Regions from separate parts of the Homo sapiens genome. Here region 1 is linked to region 2. Evidence: promoter capture Hi-C in human tissues and cell types (Jung and others, 2019). All regions are on one chromosome and are shown on one strand. Each heading gives the region's core, a stretch centred on a gene start or on the middle of the fragment in contact. The rest is flanking DNA. Distances are from core to core; before and after follow the strand shown. Region 1 overlaps LRP12 (LDL receptor related protein 12). Region 2 holds the start of FZD6 (frizzled class receptor 6).

Region 1 (3,933 bases), core at 1,323-3,822, 1.3 Mb after region 2:
GAGACCATCCTAGCTAACAAGGTGAAACCCTGTCTCTACTGAAAATGCAAAAAAATTAGCTGGGCGTGGTGGTGGGCACCTGTAGTCTCAGCTACTCGGGAGGGGGAGGCAGGGGAATGGCATGAACCAGGGAGGCGGAGCTTGCAGTGAGCCAAGACTGCGCCACTGTGCTCCAGCCTGGGTAACAGAACGAGACTCCATCTCAAAAAAAAAAAAAAAAAGAAAAAGAAAGTTCTTGGAAACCAATGGAACAAAGATACAACATCCCAGAATCTCTGGGACACAGCTAAGGCAGTATTAAAAGGGAAATTTATAGCACTAAATGCCCACATCAAAAAGTTAGAAAGATTGCAAATTAACAACTTAACATCACAACTAAAAGAACTAGAGAACCAAGAGCAAACAAATCCCAAAGCTAGTAAAGACAAGAAATAACCAAAATCAGAGATGAACTGAAGGAGACTGAGATGCAAAAAACCATTCAAAACATCAACAAATCCAGGAGCTGGTTTTTTTTTTGAAAAAATTAATAAAACAGACCACTAGCTAGGCTAATAAAGAAGAGAGAAAATTCAAATGAGCACAATCAGAAACAACAAAGGGGATACTACCACAGACCCCACAGAAATACAATCATCAGAGAATGTTGCAAACACCTGTATGCACATAAACTAGAAAAATCTAGAAGAAATGGATAAATTACTGGACACATACACCTTCCTAAGACTAAACCAGGAAAAAAACTGAATCCCTGAACAAGCTAATAACAAACTCTGAAATTAAGTCAGTAATAAACAGCCTACCAACCAAAAAATGCCCAGATGGATTCACAGCTGAATTCTACCAGATGTACAAAGAAGAGCTGGTACTGTTCCTGCTGTAACTATTCAAAAAAATTGAAGAGGAAGGGCTCCCTCCTAACTCATTCTATGAGGTCAGCATCATCCTGATACCAAAACCTGATGGCGGTTTTGGTATTAAAAAAACAAACAAGCAAAAACAAAAAACTTACTGGCAACAAAAGAAAACATCAGGCCAATATTCTTCATGAACACTGATGCAAAAATCCTCAAAAAATACTTGCAAACCAAATCCAGTAGCACATCAAAAAGCTTATCCACCGTGATCAAGTAGGCTTTATCCCTGGGATGCAAGGTTGATTCAACATATGCAAATCAATAAATGTGATTCATCGCATAAAGAGAGCTAAAGACAAAAACCACATGATTATCTTGACAGATGCAGAAAGGGCTTTTGATGAAACTCCACACCCCTTCATATTAAAAACTCTCAGTAAACAAGGTATTAAGAAATATACCTCAAAATAATAAGAGCCGTCTATGACAAACAAACCCACAACCAACATCATAATGAATGGGCAAAAGCTGGAAGCATGACCCCTGAAAACCGACACAAGACAAGGATGCCCTCTCTCACCACTGCTATTCAACATAGTACTGGAAGTCTCGGTTAGGGTAATCAAGCAAAAGAAATAAATAAAGCGCATCTAAATAGGAAGAGAGGATGTCAAATTATCCCTGTTTGCAAATGACATGATCCTATATGTAGAAAACCCCATAGTCTCGGGCCCAAAGCTTCTTAAGCTGGTAACTACTTCAGCAAATTCACAGGATATAAAATCAATGTGCAAATATCACTAACATTCCTATACACCAACAACAGTCAAGCTGAAGCCAAATCAGGAATGTAATTCCATTCACAACTGCCATAAAAAGAATAAAATACCCAGGAACACAGCTAACCAGGGAGGTGAAAGATCTCTAGAAGGAGAACTATAAAACTACGCTTACAGAAATCAGAAATGACACAAACAAATGAAAAAACATTCTATGTTTATGGGTAAGAAGAATCAATACTGTTAAAATGGCCATACTGCCCAAACCAATTTACAGATTCAATGCTATTCCTATTAAATGACCATTGACATTCTTCACAGAACTAGAAGAAACTATTTTAAAATTCATATAGAACCAAAAAAGAGCCCAAATAGCAGAGGTAATCCTAAGCAAACAGAAGAAAGCTGAAGAAATCATGCTACCCAACTTCAAACTACACTACAGGTCTACAGTAACCAAAACTGCATGGTACTCGTACAAAAACAGACACATAGACCAATGGAACACAATAGAGAACCCAGAAATAAGGCAGCACATCTACAACTAACTGATCTTCAACAAACTTGACAAAAATGAGCCATAGGAAAAGGATTCCTTATTCAATAAATGGTGCTGGGGTAACCGGCTAGTCATATGCAGAGGACTGAAACTGGACCCCTCCTTACACCATATACAAAAATTAACTCAAGACGGATTGAAGACTTAAATATAAAACCCAAAACTATAAAAACCCTGGAAGACAAGCTAGGCAATACCATTCTAGACACAAAAATAGGCAAAGATCTCAGGATAAAGATGCCAAAAGCAATTGCAACAAATGCAAAAATTGACAAATGGAATCTAATTAAACTGACGAGCTTCTGTCCAGCAAAGGAAACGGTCAACAGAGTGAATAGGCTACCTACAGAATGGGAGAAAATTTTTGCAAACTACGCATCTGACAAAGATTCATAATTTGCAAAATATCCAGCATCTATTAAGAACTAATCTAGGCTGGGTGCGGTGGCTCACGCCTGTAATCCCAGCACTTTGGGAGGCCCAGGCAGGTGGATCACGAGGTCAGGAGATTGAGACCATCAGGACTAACACAGTGAAACCCTGTCTCTACTAAAAATAAAAAAAAAAAAAAAAAAAAAATTAGCCGGGCATGGTGGTGGGTGCTTGTAGTCCCAGCTACTCGGGAGGCTGAGGCAGGAGAATGGCATGAACCCGCGAGGCGGGGCTTGCAGAGAGCCAAGATTGTGCCACTGCACTCCAGCCTGGGCGACAGAGCAAGACTCCGTTTCAAAAAAAAAACAAAACAAACAAACAAAAAATTAATCTAAATCTATAAAGAACTTAAAACACATTTACAAGAAAAAAACCCATTGAAAACTGGGTAAAGGACATGAACACTTTTCAAAAAAAGACATACATACAGCCAACAATCATATGAAATATAGCTCAACATCACCAATCAGAGAAATGCAAATCAAAACCACAATGAGATACCATCTCACACCAGTCAGAATGGCTAATTATTAAAAGGTCAAAAAAATAACAAATGCTTGCGAGGTTGTGGTGAAAAAGGAATGCTTGTACACTGTTGGGAGAAGTGTAATTAGTTCAATCATTGTGGAAGACAACGTGGCGACTCCTCAAAGACCTAAAAACAGAAATATCATTGACCCAGCAATCCCATTACTGGGAATACACCCAAAGGAATATAAATTGTTCTATTATAAAGACACATGCATGTGTTATGTTCCTTGTAGCACTGATTCACAATAACAAAGACATGGAATTAACCTAAATGCCCATCAATGACAGACTGGATAAAGAAAACGTGGTACACATATACCATAGAATACTATGTAGTCATAAAAAAGAACAAGAACATGTCCTTTACAGGAACTTGGATGGAGGTGGGGGCCATTATCCTTAGCAAACAAATGCAGGAACAGAAAACCAAATGCTGCATGTTCTCACTTATAAGTGGGAGCTAAATGATGAGAACACATGGACACATAGAGGAAGGGGAACAACACATACTGGGGCCTGTCAGAAGGTGGCGGGTGGGACAAAGGAGAGGATCAGAAAAAATAACTACTGGGTACTATATACGATATGATGTACAGATATCACTAGATATGATGTAACATATCACTAGGTGATGAAATAATCTGTACAACAAACAGATTAATAATTATGTACAACAAACCCCCATGTAATAATTGTGTACAACAAACCCCCATGACACAAGTTTACTTATATAACAAACCTGCACATGTACTCCTGAACTTAAAAGTGAAAAAAA
Region 2 (3,885 bases), core at 1-2,500:
CTAGAGCCTGATCACAAAAAGATCTCATTAAGTTCGTAGAAACTGGAGAGAAATAGTCTTCCAATGTAGAAAATTAGAAATTTAGGGGAAAATATTCTTCCTACATAGAAATTTATTCTGCAATACATCAACTATCCAGCTCTTAATGATGTTAATATTTCTTCATCACTACCTGTCTCCCAACATCAGTAAGCTTTTGATAAAACTGGGGAGGAATTCCCCACTCCAAATTCGTCTTTCCCCACAGATTCCAAAACTCTTACTCTGGTTGTTCAGGGTTGTCCTTCTAGGTATGGAAATATGACATTCCTTTTCTGCAACAGGATGATTTATCTGACAAGAATAGCCTCCATCTACAAGTTACTTTGCATTTTTCAAAGTACTTCTACAAGTTCATTTGCTTCTCATACTATTCTGCCTGTTTCATAGGAGGGCCTTACAGGTTAGGTGTAAACACTTGTAACGAACTTGGCACTATTTGACTTACAGCCAGTGCTCAATTAACGTTAACCATCATTACAACTATTGTCATTCCTATATTGTGAGGAAACTATGCCCCTTAAAGATTAGGGTAATTTATCTAATATCTATGACAGAGTTGGTACCCCAAACTAGGTTGATTTCTACAGCAGTTCAACTTCCTATTAGGGTTTGTATCAATAAAACTGTGGGACCCGCCAGGGCTGGAATCCCACTGCTACCTGAGCATCCAGTTGGTGACCAGGCTCCCCGAATTAATAAAAGTATTTGTTGTTGTTTTTATAGCAGTTGTCCAGGAAGTATCTCCTTTCGAACTCAAGTCACTTGGGCAATTGGCTTTACAAAGCAAATTGGCTCCGTTTAAGGATTCTTGACTCCTGAAATCCGCAAGGAAGTGGGTTCTTTTAGAGCCAGCGCCAAGAGCTTCAAAAAATCCTTCTAAGGTGAACCCCTCCGGACCCGGATAGCGAGATGGGGCTCAGCCTTGCGCCTCGGGGGTCGTAACAGACGGCAAGGTGGAGGTGGCTTCCCGGCCCCGCAGCCGGACCTCGGCACCCCGAGCCCGTTCACCGGGGCCGGGTCCTGGCGGGCCGCGGAGTGAGGCCGGGCGGCGCAGCGCAGGCGGTGCCCGGGCGCAGGGCCAGTCCCGCCGCCGCCGCCGCCGCCGCCGCCGCCGCCGCCGCGAGCCCGGACCTGCCCGCCCGACCTGGCGGCGCAGTCTCGCGGGATCGCTCAGCTCTCGCTCCCCGTGCGGCTCTCGAGGCAGCTCCAGTCCCGGACGCAACCCCGGAGCCGTCTCAGGTCCCTGGGGGGAACGGTGGGTTAGACGGGGACGGGAAGGGACAGCGGCCTTCGACCGCCCCCCGAGGTGAGGCTTCCACGGCTGGGACTGGGCAGGGGCCGGGCGGGTGCCGGGGGAAGCGGGGAGGGCCTCGAGGGGCGAGGGGCCGCGGCTGGGATGAGGCGCGCCGGGAGCCGCAGGTGCTGGGGAGGCAACGGCGGGACGGCCCGCACCTGAGTTTCCTCGGAAGCGGGAACCGGCTCTGAAAGGCGATGCCGGGGCCCCGCGGCGCCGCGCAGGCCAGGAACGCTGCTGTCTGGCTCTAGGCCTGGGGCAGGTTCCCGGGTGTGGGGCGCTGGCGGACCGGGCATCAGTGTGTGTTGGGGCGCGGGTAATTCGTAATCCGGGGCCTACAGCCTTCCTCCCGCAAGGGGACTGCCTTCGCCCTTCCCCCGGGACAGATTTGCGCACTTTCCTTTCGACGGCAGCACTACACCCTCCTAGCCAGTGAAAACTGCAATGTTGCTCCTCCACTGGAGGAATCCTAAAAGTCTCCCTCTAGTTGGCCTTACGAAAATCGAGAAAACTACATACCCAGAAGACTGCCACAAAAACTGACTCTTCAGAGTCTTTTACAAGTTTAAGAACTCTTTGGGTCTTAAGGAATTTCCCAGGGCCTTAGTTTTCTTGTACTTAATAAGCTTTCCAACAGGGGCCCTTAGATTGTATGCTTATATTAATCCTTTATAATTTACTCCGAATCACCAGCTTTCCTTTTTTCCTCCATCTTACTCTTGCCATTCCCTCTTTTTAACCCTGTCTTCCATACAGCACCAACCTCCTAGCATCGGTTTCCTAGAGGTGCAGCTTCCTTAGCAAATGATATATTCCATGCTAAGGCAGGTGGAAGAGTATCTCGTTAGGACAGAATTTTCCGTTGTTTTTCCAGTGTTTGTTACCTGGGGTGAAAATCTTAACTCTGCACTTTGACTCCACATTTGAGTTTATGACAAATGTTGCTGATACACCCTCCTTTTGTTTTTACAGTAATTGACCCAGGACTCATTTTCAGGAAAGCCTGAAAATGAGTAAAATAGTGAAATGAGGAATTTGAACATTTTATCTTTGGATGGGGATCTTCTGAGGATGCAAAGAGTGATTCATCCAAGCCATGTGGTAAAATCAGGAATTTGAAGAAAATGGAAATGTTTACATTTTTGTTGACGTGTATTTTTCTACCCCTCCTAAGAGGGCACAGTCTCTTCACCTGTGAACCAATTACTGTTCCCAGATGTATGAAAATGGCCTACAACATGACGTTTTTCCCTAATCTGATGGGTCATTATGACCAGAGTATTGCCGCGGTGGAAATGGAGGTGAGTAGTGCTTCATACGTTTATTGAATAGTAGTTTATGCTCTGTTCTAGAATAAACTAGTAAAAATAAGTCTATTTTTAAACAGAGCCGATTTCTTCAAGTTGTGTACAAGTTGTGTTTTGAAAAGTCCTTTTGAAAATTAAATCCCTCTACTGACTTATGTTTTGTGTACCTTTGCGGCCCTGTTTAGTAGATTCGTTTGAATAGGGTTCATTTTATATAATGAAGTATGGTTACACATGATTTCTAAATACCTTGTACCTAGAAAATATTTTGCTTTCCTGAATCAAGTATGATAGTTCTTCTAGAAATGCGAATTCTGAATATTTTTCTACTTCACTGAACATGTAATATTTATTGCCTGGACTAAAACTGAAGAAATTTACAAGTTTTTATAAGTAGTTGTAATATTCACTTGGTACAGTTTTTCTGAAATAAATAAATTATCAGAATATTTTGTTGCTGTAGACTGTATTTTAAGGCTATCACAAAGTCACTAAAAAGTGACTTTGTTTTCTAAGCATAGCACTTATATGTTCTTTATAAGATACTTGTTAAAAGAAACCACTTGGGAGGAGTACAGTGACACTAAAGATTGCCTTAGGTGCCTTAGTTACCTGTCTCTGGTTTAGAGATATGCAAATTACTAGGGAGTGTGAGAAGAAAGCTACCTGTACAGACAGGAACCTGCCTTCCCATACAGATTTGTTAGGTTGTTAAGTCTCCTGAAGGAAACTAGACACATGCATTGTTTTTGTAGTTTTTCTCCAGAAAAACAGAATAGTAAAGGCTTTTTTCCCTCAGATTGTTGCTAAGAGAGGAAATCCCTACAAATTTAATATATATACTATTTTTAAAATTGATTAGATTTGATTTTGCAGCTTTGAAAGTTTTCTATTGTTGTTCAGTTGAATAGTTGTCTGACTGCCTCATTGTGGACTCATGTCTGGAATAGGAAAGCTTATAAATACTAAGTAGATGTTATTTAAAAGGATAGTACAGATTATATTATTGTTATCTTTCAGTGGTTTTTTTCAAACTGATGCTAGATGTCCTTTTGAACTGAACAAATGATGCACTGAGACTTTCATGAATCAGAACCATTTTGATGGTTCAATCTGATTCAATATGAAGTATATAGTGAGAACACTGTGAAGCAATAATTACATCATTCATTCACTTTTTTGCTGATGATAATATGTTTTGTAGTGTTCATGTTTTAATAGTGTTCCTAAATTTTTTAAATC

The links. Contacts are between HindIII fragments. The study calls those that stand out against the background at their distance.
Region 1: a fragment that was not itself captured here is called in contact with the fragment with the promoter of FZD6 in region 2 in 1 of the 25 tissues and cell types used here (dorsolateral prefrontal cortex).

The regions. Positions count from the first base shown.
Region 1 is chr8:104,577,607-104,581,539 of GRCh38, forward strand. All of the region lies in intron 1 of LRP12 (LDL receptor related protein 12), which reads right to left. Among named protein-coding and RNA genes, the nearest start is that of LRP12, 9.7 kb to the right of the region's middle. The HindIII fragment of the contact is 4,873 bases long and covers 137-3,933 here.
Region 2 is chr8:103,297,648-103,301,532 of GRCh38, forward strand. It overlaps FZD6 (frizzled class receptor 6), which reads left to right and starts at 1,251. Exons shown (of 7, transcript NM_003506.4): 1 at 1,251-1,348; 2 at 2,309-2,637. The coding sequence starts at 2,461. LOC105369147 (a long non-coding RNA gene) reads right to left here and starts at 1,171. Exons shown (of 2, transcript NR_148216.1): 1 at 702-1,171. RefSeq lists enhancers at 827-1,327, 1,328-1,828, 1,682-1,731 and silencers at 932-981, 992-1,161, 1,282-1,531, 1,394-1,688. The HindIII fragment of the contact is 4,787 bases long and covers 1-2,780 here.